Regions from separate parts of the Homo sapiens genome. Here region 2 is linked to region 1. The links are contacts of gene promoters, found by promoter capture Hi-C in blood cells and fetal thymus (Javierre and others, 2016). All regions are on one chromosome and are shown on one strand. The core of a region is centred on a gene start or on the middle of the fragment in contact, and the rest is flanking DNA. Distances in the headings are between cores, read along the strand shown.

Region 1 (7,061 bases), core at 48-2,547:
GGAAGCGAAGAAAGGCGGGGAGAAAGGAATGAGAGGCGGGAGAGTGACTTGAATGAAGCTGACACCAAGAACCGCGGGAAGAGCTTGGGCCCAAAGCAGGAAAGGGAAGCGCTCGAGTTGGGGGTAAGGGGAGGCATTTTGGGGACAATGAGCTGAGCTCAGTAAGAAATCCCCAAGCCACTGATACTACTGGGGACCGGACAACTAAGAAATGGGGTCTTTCAGGCATGAAAAGCCTCCATGATGACTCCTGCCCTGGCCCTGGAATGTTAAAAAGGGGGCGTCTGACCCAAGCGAGCCATTTCTTGAGGCTATGCGGGTAGACAGGGAGAGCAGGTTTCTCAGGGGGACGGGGACAGGCGAGGCTGTCGCCGTAGGTAGGTAAGGGGACAGTCTTCTTCCGAATCGCTCCTGCCCCGTTTTTTATCTCGTTCCCACCCCCACTCCGGTTTTCACCCTGCCCTCCTCTCCCCACCGCCCCGTGTTCTCCTCACTTCCCTCTCCCATTACCGGAGCCATTGAGTAGCCCCCCTTGTTTTACCCTAGCCTTGACCCTCGCCGCACCCCCCAATTCTTACGTCCTCCCCAGCACCCGGTTATTACACCTTCCTTCCACCCCCTCCCCATTTTCCCCTAAGCCCAGCTCTCCCCAGGTTTCTTCTCGGCCAGTATTCCCTCCAACCTATTTCTCCCGCCCCCATTTTTACCCGTTTCCCCCCTCATCGGCCTTCGCATGGCTCCATTTTCACCTGCCCCTCCCCTCGATTTCGCTTCAGCCCCTTTGGTTCCCCTTACCCCCACAGCCCTCGGTCTCCCTCTCTCCGTTCTCCCCGGATCGCCGCTTCCCCTGCTTGGTTTTTCTCTCAGCCCGGCTCTACCACTCTCCAACACCCCCTTTTCCCCTGAGCCCGGCTTCCCCTACTCCGGTTTCTATCGCTCCCCTTTTCCCGGTTTCCCTCAGCTCTGTTCACCTCCCTCCCTTCCCCGTTTTTATCCGGCGCTGGTTCCCCTCAGGACCCCGCACAACCCCTGGGTTTTATCCCGTTCGCGCCCCACCCCGTTTCCGCTCAGCTCCCCCCACCCCTGCCCCATTTTTATCTGGTTCGCGCGTCTTCCCCGCCCCCGTTTCCCCTGAGCAACCCCTCAGCTTTTATCCCGTCAGCGTACCGCCTCCCCGATTTTCCATCTTTTCCCTCAGCTGCCCCCCACCGTTTTTATCCCGTCCGCACCCCCCCTCCGTTTCCCCTGCGCCCCGCCCCCGCGCGTCTCCGCCCGCGCCCACCGCCATGTGACGGGAAGCAGCTGATGGCCTCTCCGGGCGGCGGCGGCGGCCTGGCCGGGGCGGGCGGCGCGGGGGCGGCATGAGGGCCCGCGGCCCGGGGGGCTGAGGCGCCCGCCGCCTGCCGCGGGGGCCGCTCGCGTCCTCCATGGAGGCCGGAGGTGAGTGGGGCCGGGCGCGCCCGTTCCCGCCCGGCGGGGCCCTGGCCCGTTCTCCCCGGGGAGGGGGGAGGCGACCCCGGGGCGGGCTGGGCGGGGTGGGGCGGGGGCTGGACGCGGCGGGGGCGTCCGGCCTGGGAGGTCCGCGCGGGGCCGGCGGGGGTGCGCGCCCGGCGACCAGCTTTGTTTCACTTTCGTTGTCAGTGGCCGCCACCCTGACTCCCGCCGGCGACAGGATCGGGAAGATCGGGCTTCTGCGGGAGGAGATCCCCCGACCGGGACAGAGGGGGCTCCCGGGTGGGACTCGGGGCGGGGGGCACCAAGCCCTAAAACGGAGATCCCCAAGGGGGTGGGTGCCCCTGGGTACCCAGGTGCCAGGGGACGCACTTGCATGTCTGGATGGGAGTCACCTCTGTCCCTCACAAGCTGTGTGATCGTGACAGTGGACAAGCCACTGAACCACCGCCACCCACGTCTCAGTTTTGATCTGCAAAATGGGATAATCCTAGTACCTTCCTCGGAGGGTGGCTGGGACCCGGTAAAAATGGGGTCTGGGGTCTGGGTTCCCTATTGAAACAATCTATTCCCAGCCTCTCCCACTGGAGATTAAGTCAGTGGAGGTGGGGCGGGACTGGAGACGCTGATCCCTGGTGACATGTATGATCAGGCAAATTTAGGATACACTGATGGGTGGGGACCTTGCCTCTATTCTTGTTAACTGCCATCCCCATCAGAAGACAGCGTGGAAGTCAGAGGATATTGGATATACCTCAAGCCAGCCCAGATGAACATAAAATCTCAGTGGGAAAGGTGTGTCTCTTATGCAAGGGGAAAAAAACCCCAAGACGCATGCACGCCTTGGCCCTCTCCCCTCCAACGACCTTCCCTCGGAACCCCACTTGGGATAGATTTAGAATTGATTCCGGGAGTCCCAGGTCTTGAAGGACCCGAGTTTAAATGTAATTTCCTTAGGAGAAATTTTCAGAGCAGGTTCAAGGCCTAGGGCTCAGAATTTGTTCCAGAACTTCATGGTAATCTTGCAGCCAAGTTCAAGCTTCATCCTGGTCTGGAGGGTTCTGATTGCTGATGGCTTGTTACTGTGGGTGGGAAGGTTGAAATCTGGGTATTCCCTGGGGTGGTGTTACTTTTTAATTTAGGAAATGACATTTCTTTGTTTGCTGAAGTCAGGCATTGAGTTAAAGGCAGCTCTCTCTCCTTCCCATCTAGATAAGGGCTTTCTTTTCAGTGAGTGTTACCCGTAGAATTCTTTTTAAAAGGGCCCCTACTGTTTGTGTAGATCCTATGTGAATCTTTTTATAGCTTCCGTTTGATTTCCATTGCCTCCTTACAGTTCAATCTGAAAGCAATCTGTAGCTAGCCTGCCTTTTTAACAGAAATCTGTTTCCAGTTCTGGGGTTTTCCTAAAGATTGACAACTTCGTTTTGAGGGTGTGGGCAGGGTTGTTGAGAGCTGCCAAGTTACTGTACAAAAAAGGCCAGAGTTTTAACTTATTTTCAAATGGAATAAAGCCCATTGTAAAGGAAATACAATGGGCAACAGTTGAAATCTTCAGAGCAATGGTTAGACTTCACTTATTCATTCAGCAAATATTTGTTGAACGTCTACTATGTGCCAGGCACCCTCTAGGCCAGCCCCGACCAACAGAAGTCTAATGTGAGCCACGTATGTAATTTAAAATGTTCAAGTAGCCACATTAAAAAAAAGAAAAAAGAACTAGGTGACAATTTAAAAACTCTTTCAATACAACATGTCTAAAATATTCCTGCTACATGTAATCAAATAAATTGTAATGTAATGTTTTAGATTTTTTTTTGTGCTAAGTGTTCAAAACGTGTTGTGTATTTTTTACTTACAGCCCATCTGAATTCTGACTTGCCACATTTCAAGTGGTTGGTAACCACATGTGATTTCCCTATTAGACAGTGTAGCCCAATAGCAGTGAACTGGCAAGTTTGGGTGGGTTCAGAAAGAGACAGACAATAAATACGTAAAAATGACAGGCAATCAAGAAAATATCAACCAAATGCGCCGGGGTGGCTCACGTCTGTAATCTCAGCACTTTGGGAGGCTGAGGCGGGCAGATCACTTGAGGCCAGGAGTTCGAGACCAGCCTCACCAACATAATGAAACTCCGTCTCTACTAAAAATACAAAATTAACCAGGCGTGGTGGTGCATACCTGTAATCCCAGCTACTCAGGAGGCTGAGGCAGGAGAACCGCTTGAACTGGAGAGGTGGAGGTTGCAGTGAACCAAGATCTCGCCATTGCACTCCAGCCTGGGCAACAAGAGTGAAACTCCATCTCAAAAAAAAAAAAAGAAGAAGAAAATATCTAAGTGATGGTTATAAAGAAAATCAAATGGTTAAAGGAAAGTGAATGGTGCCAGGCGCAGTGGCCCAGCAGTTTGGGAGGCCAACTTGGGTAGATCACTTGAGCTCAGGAGTTTGAGACCAGTCTAGGCAGCATGGCAAAACCCCATCTCTGCAAAAAATACCGAACTATAGGCGCGTGCATGGTAGAATGTGCCTGTAGTCCCAGCTACTGGGGAGGCTGAGATGGGAGGATCATCTGAGCCTGGGGAGGTCGAGGTTGCAGTGAGCCGTGATGGTGCTACTGCATTCCAGCCTGGGCAACAGAGCAAGACCCTGTCTCAAAAAAAATAAAAAATAAAAAAGGAAAGTGTATGGTCGCTTTAGATAGTGAGGCCAGGATGGTCTCTGAGAAGGTGACATGAGGACCAATCCCTGAATGATAAGATGGAGCAACTGAGGAAAGCTTTTGAGGCCGGTGGAATATCTAATGTACATGTCCTGATACAGGAAAAATCACCTAGCTTCCTGCTGGCTGGGGTCATAGCTTTCATCTCTGTGTTAAGGCTAACTGCTTTGCCTAGAAGAGGCTTATAATATATACCTTTCCATTCAGCCTGATTGTCCAAACACATCCCATTGTTTAATTAGAACACCCTGATCCAGGGCCAGGTGCAATGGCTCATGCCTGCAGGAGAATCGCTTGAGCTCAGGAGATCAAAACCAGCTTGGTCAACATAGCCAGACCCCCATCTCTACTAAAAATTTAATTTAAAAAAAAAAAAAATGCTGAGTGTGGTGGTACGCCCCCGTAGCCCGATACACAGGAGGCTGAGGCGGGAGGATCACTTGAATCTGGGTGGGAGATTGAGGCTGCAGTGAGCTGTGATTCAGCCACTGCACCCCAGCCTGGGTCTCAAAAAAAAAAAAAACCCAAATATATATATGAATATGATATACTTGAAATTTGCTAAGAGTAGATTTTAAGTGTTCTCACCACACAAAAATAAGTATGTGAGGTAATGCATATATGGTAATGAGCTTGACTGAGCCATTCCACAATGTATACATATATCAAAACATGTTATATTCCATAATATATACAATTTTTATTTATCAGTTTAAAAAAGAAGAGGCTGGACGCGGTGACTCACGCCTGCAATCCCAGCACTTTGGGAGGCCGAGGTGGGCAGATCACCTGAGGTCAGGAGTTCGAGACCAGCCTGGCCAAAATGGTGAAACCCCATCTCTACTAAAAATACAAAAATTAGCCAGGTGTGGTGGCGCATGCCTGTAATTCTAGCTACTCGGGAGGCTGAGGCAGGAGAATCACTTGAACCCAGGGGGCGGAGGTTGCAATGAGCCGAGATGGCGCCACTGCACTCCAGCCTGGGCAGCAGAGTGAGACTCTGTCTCAAAAAAAAAAGGAGAAAACAAAGAAACCCTGATTCATAGGCCTTTTCACCAAGAAGGATCTACAAGTACCATACCAGTTGAAGCTAGATACCCCACCCCCAGCTCTGTTTTTGTTTGTTTGTTTTGTTTTTAAGTTCTGCACTAATTAGGGCTTTCTCTCCGTGTAGCCAAGTTTAGTTTGGGCCCAGACTCCAAGAGACAGGAGTCACTGGGTTTGTTCTTCTTTTAGCTCCTGGATTCCTGAACCTGAAATAGCAAGAGATTAAATCCCTAAATCACAGAAATAGAGTGTGAATTCTGAGTAGGGCTTGTGTTTAAGAAGCATTTCATGTGAAATGTTTGGCATAAGCATCATCAGAGTTTAAGGGGCTTTATTTATTTTTTATTTTTTGGGGACAGAGTCTTGCTCTGTCACCCAGGCTGGAGTACAGTGGTGCAATCTTGGCTCACTGCAACCTGCACCTCCCGGGTTCAAGTGATTCTCCTGCCTCAGCCTCCCGAGTAGCTGCGACTACAGGCGCCCGCCACTATGCCCGGCTAATTTTTGTATTTTAAGTAGAGACGGGGTTTCACCACGTTGGCCAGGCTGGTCTTGAACTCCTGGCCCCAAGTGACCTGCCTGCCTCGGCCTCCCAAAGTGTTGGGATTACAAGCATGAGCTACCATGCCTGGCCAGCTTTATGTTACTTTTTTGTTTAAAGAGTTATACCATATGTATTTATTAGACAAATATTTACTCACTGCCTGCCCTCCACCAGGAACTCTGCCAGCTCTGGGGATAAATATACAAAGTTCTTGCTCCCTGGAGTTGATATCCTAGTGGAGGGGAGACAGATGGCGATCAAATGGTGATAGAGCTGTAAAGAAAATAAAGTGAGGGGTTGTGAAGGAGATTGACTAGGGGTCAGAAGAGTTCTCTAAGCAGTTGTCATTTGAGCCAGACCTGAATAAGAGTAGATGCCAGCCGAGGAGAGGCATTCCAGGTGAAGGGCATGGTTGGTGCAAAGGCCTAGGGTCAGAACTAATTGAGCATTGGCAGAGGGTAGAGAGAAGGGCAATGTGTTGGAGCCAGGGGCAGGGAGAGAAGTACAAGCCCAGGGAAGTTCAGATTATGCTGGATTTTGAGGGCAGGGTGAGGAGCTAGAGTTTTATTCTAACAGTGTTTGAAACTGACCACTCTGGAGGCAAGGAGAACCGATGGTGCGGGGCTAGAGGGGAAGCCGGGAGAGCAGCTGGAAGGTTGCCTACTGGGCCAGGCGGGAGATGATGCTGCATAGATGAGAGTAGAGATGGAGAGGGGTTAGATTTGGCAAGTCTTTTGTAAACAGACTTGATAGAACTTGCTAATGGATTTGGTTTGGGAGATTTAAAAAAAAAAAAACAGACGTGGTGGTTTACACCTGTAATCCCAGCACTTTGGGAGTCCGAGGTGGGCGGATTGCTTCAGTCTAGGAGTTTGAGACCAGCCTGGCCAAGATAGCAAAAACCTGTCTCTACTAAAAATACAAAAATTAGCTGGGTGTGGTGGTGCACGCCTGTAATCCCAGCTTCTTGGAAGGCTGAGGCATAAGAATTTCTTGAACCCAGGAGGCCGAGGTTGCAGTGAGCCGAGATTGTGCCATTGCAGTCCAGCCTGGGTGACAGAGTGAGACTCCATCTCAAAAAAAAAAAAAAAAAAAAAAAAAGGATAATGTAGAGGAAGTGAACCAATTGTGAATGTTATCAGGATGGAAAAAAAAAAGACATTTTCATCCTGGTCATTTGATCCGGAATTCCTGGTCTCAAGCAATTCTTCCACCTCTGCCTCCCAGAGCACTGGGATTACAGGCATGAGCCACTACCCCAGGCCATCCAGGTCATTTGAAAATGTTTCTCTAG
Region 2 (7,144 bases), core at 77-2,576, about 12 Mb after region 1:
AAACACGGGTCTAGATTTGCACCTGCACGGGACGATTAGCTCCTTGGAGTCACACCCATCCAGGCCCTCTGAAGACTTGGCGTGCGTGCAAAAGATAAAGCGTCTTACTTCCTCTAGGGTTCTTGGCAGCACCTATCTCCGGGAGAAGTTTCCACCTTGGTTAATGTAAATAACCAGTCCCAGGAGGGCTCTGTGCCGTCTGGCCTGCTGCTCAGCTCCTGCTGTGGGCGTGCTTGAGGGTGTAGAGAAACAAGCTTCCCCCAACTGTTCACATCAAAACTATGCCTTCTGCCAGGTGTAAATCGGTGCTGTATTACTTGGGAAATAGTTTCATGCAGGAACTACTTACATGAAGTTTGTATAGACTAAAGTATTTCTGTTTAGTGCCGAAATTATGTCTGGATTGTGGAGGCAGATTGGCCACCACCGTTCAAAAACAACAACAACAAACAACAGGCAACATTTTAAAGCAGGGTAGAAAGTCAGTTGTTCAGTGGTTACAACACAGACTCCTCTATGGTTCCAGTCCTGGCTCTGACATTCACTATCCATGAGATCTTGGTCTCTGGGGATAACAATGATAGCTATTTCCTTGGGTTATTTTGAGGATAAAGTGAAATAAAGCATGTGAAGTGCTTAGCAGGGTGCACAGTAAGCACTCTAAGTATTAGTTATTGAAATTCTTTGGCAAACCACTGTGGCCAAACTTAGCTGGTGATCTGTATAAATTTGTATCTGTGCCTCCTTTTGCCACTTTCCTCTCTTCTCCTAAAATATACAACCTAATAATACAGGTTAAGAGATTAAATAGAAGGTGCTGTCCCCACCTGAGTTCTTCCCTACAAACATGCTCTTATTTGTGTCATTCGTTGGATAAGTAATCAGAATGACAGAAGCCTCCAATTTCAATTCCTGCCAAATGACAACCACCACACAACTGCCATCACCACCCTAAAAACTCCACAATAGAAAGATGAACACCCAAATCCCCCAAACTTCTGGTAATTCTGTGACAATGACACATGGCAACATTACTTCCTTTGTTAGCTTTGTAAGGATTTAAGTATTGTTTTGAGCTATGACATAAGTTGGAGCAGGTGACCATGAGTCAGGGTAGTTGTCCTTTATACTGGAGTGACCAGCTGCCTGATCCTAGGCATGACACTTCTTTTAAAGTTCAGATATGTAGCTCTCAAAGCCACCAGGAAAGCAGCTTTTGTCAAAGCAAGTTCAACTGTAACATCAGAGAACCAAGCTGAGATAAGAAAAGATGCTGGAAATACTATCTTCTGTTACTTTAATGTTAAATAACTTGCTATCTGAAAACCCTTCTGTGAATTACCTGACCAACTGCCCTTGGCCTGACTTGTGTATAAAAGCACTTTGGGCCAGGCACGGTGGCTCATGCCTGTAATCCAAGCACTTTGGGAGGCCGAGGCAGGTGGATCACAAGGTCAGGAGATCGAGACCATCCTGGCTAACACGGTGAAACCCCGTCTCTACTAAAAATACAAAAAAATTAGCTGGGCGTGGTGGCACGCACCTGTAATCCCAGCTACTCTGGAAGCTGAGGCAGGAGAATCGCTTGAACCTGGGAGGTGGAGGTTGCAGTGAGCCGAGATCACGCCACTTTACTCCGGCCTGGGCGACAGAGCGAGACTCCATCTCAAAACAAAACAAAACAAAAACAACACTTTGAAAAAATGGAGTGCTGTAAAATATAAGGCAGTTCCCTCAAAAATGAGCCTTGTATCACATTGTTGCTCAGAGGGCTCAGACAGTCATAACACAAAATCTTCCCTGCTCAGGTTATGTTTATGGCTTTCTGAGGAAAAAAAAAAAACAACAAAATCTGAAAAGGCAACCTCTTTAGAAGTAAAATAATTAGCATTTTATTTGAAGAAGACATATTATTACACCTAGTTTTTCTAACTTACCTTTTTGAACCACTTAGAGAACTCACAGTAATACAGTTTTTTTTTCTCCCTGTAAATTACACGGTAGACTAAATGTGGTCTATCACTCTTGGCAAAAGACTAAGGGCAGATCAAAATTTTTGTTCGATGAAGAAATAGAAATACTCATTTTCTTTTTACACATCTGAAATCTGAGTTTTAAATTATAATAAATCATTGACAAAAATCTAAAAATGTAATTACAGTTGGATTTGCAACCTCTCAGCCTTATAACTTTTCTAGTGGAGTTGCATATTGTACTGATTTAATGTAATGCAAATTTAGCTATACGGGACTCATCTAGGACAGAATATGAGGAACACAAGAGAATAATTTAAATACTTCCAGTGATCTTGTCCCCTATTTCTCTCTATGGGAGTTGTGAGGCTTCTCTTACTGTGTTTATCTGAGTTTCTGAGCTTCTCATTATGTTCCAAGCTTCTTTCCCACGGCTGGCTTCATGTTCGTGCAGTCTGGGCAGTTGCACAAGGCCCCACCCTTGGAAGAGCCCTGTGCTTGGTTTAATACATTGCTGCTGTTGTGTTGAGATTCTTAATACTGTGCTTTTTGAAAGGGGGCCTTGCATTTTCATTTTGCACTGGACCTGGCAAATTATGTAACTGGTCCTGATCTCCCCACACAGAATATGAGTCTAGTGGTTAAAGGTGCTTATCTTCCTGCCCCTAAGTGCCAATCAATTATTTCAACCAGTGCTCACTTGAAGAAACTTATGTCTGTTTCAATGCTGGAAGAAAAGAAATAGCCCCAAACAAACAAAAAACGACAAAAACTTGGTGTATCCCAGGTCTTATGGCTCATTAAAAAATTTTCAAGAGTAATTTTCACTGCACTTTGACCTCATGGTCTTCCTTAAGAGCCTAACCCCTCCTGTAAGATGTGACTCCATTGTAATTGAAAAAAACAAAAACAAAAAGCAAAAAAATGGGCTGGGCATGGTGGCTCAGGCCTGTAATCTCAGCACTTTGGGAGGCTGAGGTGGGTGGATCACCTGAAGTCATGAGTTCGAGACCAGCCTGACCAACATAGTGAAACCCTGTCTCTACTAAATACAAAAAATTAGCCAGGCATGGTGTGCATACCTCTAATCCCAAATACTTGGGAGGCTGAGGCAGGAGAATCACTTGAACCCAGGAGGCAGAGGTTGCAGTGAGCCAGGATTGCACCATTGCACTCCGGCCTGGGCAACAAGAGTGAAACCTGGTCTCACAAAAAAAAATGGCCGGGCATGGTGGTTCACACCTATAATCCCAGCAGTTTGGGAGGCCGAGGCAGGTGGATAACTTGAGGTCAGGAGTTTGAGACCAGCCTGACCAACATGGCAAAACCTCATCTCTACTAAAAATACAAAAAATTAGTTGGGCGTGGTGGCACACACCTGTAATCCCAGCTACTTGGGAGGCTGAGGCAGGAGAATTGCTTGAACCTGGGGGGCGGAGGTTGCAGTGAGCTGAGATTTCACCACTGCACTCCAGCCTGGGCAACAGAGCGAGACTTTGTCTCAAAAAAAATTTTAAACTAAAAATTAAATTAAAAAAAATGTTTTTCAAAGGAATCCCACTTCTTTTCTCTCCCCTGTCCATCTTCAGGTGCTACAGAAAGGGCCAAAAATCAGTGAGGGGGAAAATACAATAGAAAGCAAAAAGAAGAAAATGAATTTGGCTAATACACCAACTAGAGAATTAGGCCCTGAATGTTCAAAAATTAACTGCATACCTCCTACTCAATTTTACTGTGAGCTCTAAAAATAAGGTCTATTAAAAAAAATTAACCACACCTTTTAGGCAATTTTTTTTTGTTCTATATCCTGTGATTTGGAAGATAAGGTAGATTTAGATAATTGACCAGTTTTGACTATTAATTGATGCTTGAACAATTTTCCAAAGCACCAAAACCAGTTTTCTTTTGACTCCACTGAACTGAATTAGTAAAAAAATTAACAGTTATTTCTCATTTCAATTGCCTGTACCTTCACATTTAGGCACTGCCCAGTCCCTGACCCTGTCACATACTAAAAAGACAAATATTCTTAGTGCTCCCTACACCCCACCCTGGGCCCCTTCCTCTTACCTGGGCACCACTGTTGTCCCCTGGGAAGCAGAAAGAGTGAGAACCAGCAGTGAAGACAACTTTGGGGCAGGAAGTGGGAGGGGCCAAAGAGAGTTGAAGCTCAAAGGAACACCTATGGGAGGCCAAACAGGTGATGGCTCAGACCTCTGACCAAGCCAGTCACTCTCTTTAGCTCATCTCCAGGCCAGCAGGCAATCAACCATTTTCTAAATGATTGCTTTTCTAAAGTGTTCATGGATGAACACAGGCCCTCAGTTTTAAAATCAAATGAAATTGTCAAATGGGCATGAGGAAGAGCTACTAAAATAAGATGCAATCTCCAGAAAACATAAAGGAAGGATTAAGAAATGTGACTTTTTAGGTACACGATTCAACATGAAAACATGAGTTACAGAACACTGATTATGGGGTGACACGATTTATGCTAGAGAGAGCTTACACTAGAGACAGTACATATGCATTGTGTGTATATGAAATACATAGAAATGGACTAAAAAGAATCTCAACCGTTTAGAAGGCTATTTAGGCAAGTTAGTTCCTGGTTTATTCCGTACACATTCAAGCAGCTTATTTCTTTTACAATGAGAATGTCATTCATATATTACTAGTCTATTTCACACTGCCATACAATGCAACTATTCTTATTATTGTATGTCCTCCTAAATATACCTTAGTGAAGATAGGCTATTGATACTGCACAATAAGCAAATTTCCCATCTCTTTTTTATTCATATTTAAGAAAGCCATGACAACAAATGGAGCTTTTCATGTAAAATATATGAAAGAATAGATTTACAAAAAGTCCCTCACTATGATATGTCAAAATTATTAATGCTGGGTGGGGGAATATTGATCTTTACTTTTTAAGTTCTTCTCCTCAAGCCCTATTCTTCGATAGCCAAAGTGCATGGAGTTTGCTTTCATTTTAAACATGTTTTTTGCCCCAAACTCTGACCTCTAAAACCTTCCCTTTCTTTGATGATAAACTGGACAAATGTCCTTTCTCAAAGTTATATGGGACTTTAATAATTATACTACCTTTTTTTTGTTGTTTCTTTTTTTTGAGACAGAGTCTCACTCTGTCAGCCAGATTGGAGTTCAGTGGCATGATCTCGGCTCACTGCAACCTCTGCCTCCCGAGCTCAGGCGATTCTTTTGCCTTAGCCTCCTGAGTAGCTGGAATCACAGATGTGTGCCATCACGCCTGGCTAATATTTTGTATTTTTAGTAGAGATGGGGTTTCACCATGTTGGCTAGGCTGGTCTCGAACTCCTGACCTCAAGTGATCCACCCCTTGGCCTCCCAAAGTGCTGGGATTACAGGCATCAGCCACCACACCCAGCCGTACATTTTGAAGACAAAAAAATTGAGAGCTCTGAACATTCAAATGCCTGAATAGTAGCTTTTACCTGAGTTCCTGGGCATTCTAGAGGAAGGTCATATACTAGGGCACTAAGGGTTTATGTTGACTAAAGGGATACTCAGCAGTGACTCACTCAGTTGGCAGGTCAAGAATAGAAACCAGAAGAACTCACTTCATGGCTTCTCTCCGCAAATACACACATATACACGTGCAGTGTCACATGCAAAGTATTACCTATTGGCATAATTATCTAATTTCCATAACAACATATCAACAAGCATACCAGCTCTGTACCAACTAAGTGCCCAAAGTATTTATAATCACATTCCATTACTCTAGAAGGGTGCCTGGACCAGATACTGGGGTGGCTGTGCCTTCTAGAAAGCAAGAATGGAATGCAGCTTTATACAAAAATATGAAGCTGTTTACATAGATATATATTCACCCGCACACATGCACACACGAAACATTTCTGGCCAATTCCCTCAGAGGGATCCCAAGCCATGCCATTGTTTATGTTACATGTACATCTGCATGTATATTATCAGTAAATTCCCACAAAGCTCAGTATAGGCTGGGCGCAGTGGCTCATTCCTGTAATCCCAGCATTTTGGGAGGCCGAGGTGGGCGGATCAACTGAGGTCAGGAGTTCAAGACCAGCCTGGTCAGCATGGTGAAACCCCGTCTCTATTAAAAATACAAAAAATTAGCTGGGCGTGGTGGCGCACTCCTGTAGTCCCAGCTATTTGGGAGGCTGAGGCAGGAGAATCACTTGAACCCAGGAGGCAGAGGCTGCAGTGAGCCAAGATCACGCCACTACACTTTTGCCTGGGTGGCAGAGTGAAACTCAGTCTAAAAAAAAAAAAATGCTCGGTGTAACATAATTATACAAATAAATTTAATTTTAATGCTGAAGCTGAATTCTTTATTTAAAGGAAGACCTCTGTGATGATATGTGGACGTTTAAAAAAATGACTTTTTAAAAGTTACAAGCATTACGTAGATCAAAATTTTCAAAGAATTAATCAACTGAGGTACAAAATAATTGTATATAATGAGGAAATGTGGTATGGTGGAAAGAGGGTGGGCTTTGGGTTCAGACAGACCAGAGGGTTGACAGCCAAGTTCCACCACTCATTATACATATGTCCTTATCCTCACAGGTATAAAATGGGGATAATAATGTTGTGGGGGCCATTTGTCATTTTGGTGATCCAGCTTTCCGAATGGTATTTGAATTGTTATCATTTATTATAGAAGCCAGAGAGGGGATGATATGCTAATCCCATTAATACTTTACTACTGGAGCTGGAAAGGCATTCTGTCTTCCCAGACCCTGGTGGCTGTAGCATGGGCATGGGACCTACGCATGTTCTGTCAGATGCTGACCACCACAGGTAGATAGGGGTGATTCACAGAGCTACAGTGGTGGTGCCCAATGCTGATGACACCAGCTATGGCATCCTTAGCATGTTCTTAGCTATGCCTGGCTTCCTTTAGTTCTTTCCCAAGCTTGGTTCTTCAGTCTAAAATATGTTAGAGTCACTCGATAGCTAATTCCATGAGCTACCAAGACCCTCTGGTCTCAGTTCCATGAGCTACGAAGACCCTTCTGGTCTAGTCAGACTAAGGTGTATTATTTGCCACTAAGAACTTTGACTAGAACAAATACTCCATAACCTGTGGGAGAATTAAAAGAAATAATGTATATGAAGAGTTGAGCAGAGTGCCAGCGACA

The links. The method cuts DNA at HindIII sites, captures the fragments that hold promoters and counts their contacts. A CHiCAGO score of 5 or more calls a contact.
Region 2: a contact is called between a fragment that was not itself captured here and the fragment with the promoter of WSB2 in region 1, in 1 of 17 cell types (activated CD4 T cells). The highest score is 5.6, in activated CD4 T cells.

Annotation. Positions count from the first base shown.
Region 1 is chr12:118,055,415-118,062,475 of GRCh38, reverse strand. WSB2 (WD repeat and SOCS box containing 2) reads left to right here and starts at 1,297. Exons shown (of 9, transcript NM_018639.5): 1 at 1,297-1,440. The coding sequence starts at 1,428. It overlaps LOC124903030 (a long non-coding RNA gene), which reads right to left and starts at 1,016. Exons shown (of 2, transcript XR_007063479.1): 1 at 796-1,016. RefSeq lists a silencer at 1,838-1,887. The HindIII fragment of the contact is 4,146 bases long and covers 1-2,493 here.
Region 2 is chr12:106,294,872-106,302,015 of GRCh38, reverse strand. It overlaps a transcript of TCP11L2 not described here. Among named protein-coding and RNA genes, the nearest start is that of TCP11L2, 4.3 kb to the left of the region's middle. The HindIII fragment of the contact is 2,139 bases long and covers 257-2,395 here.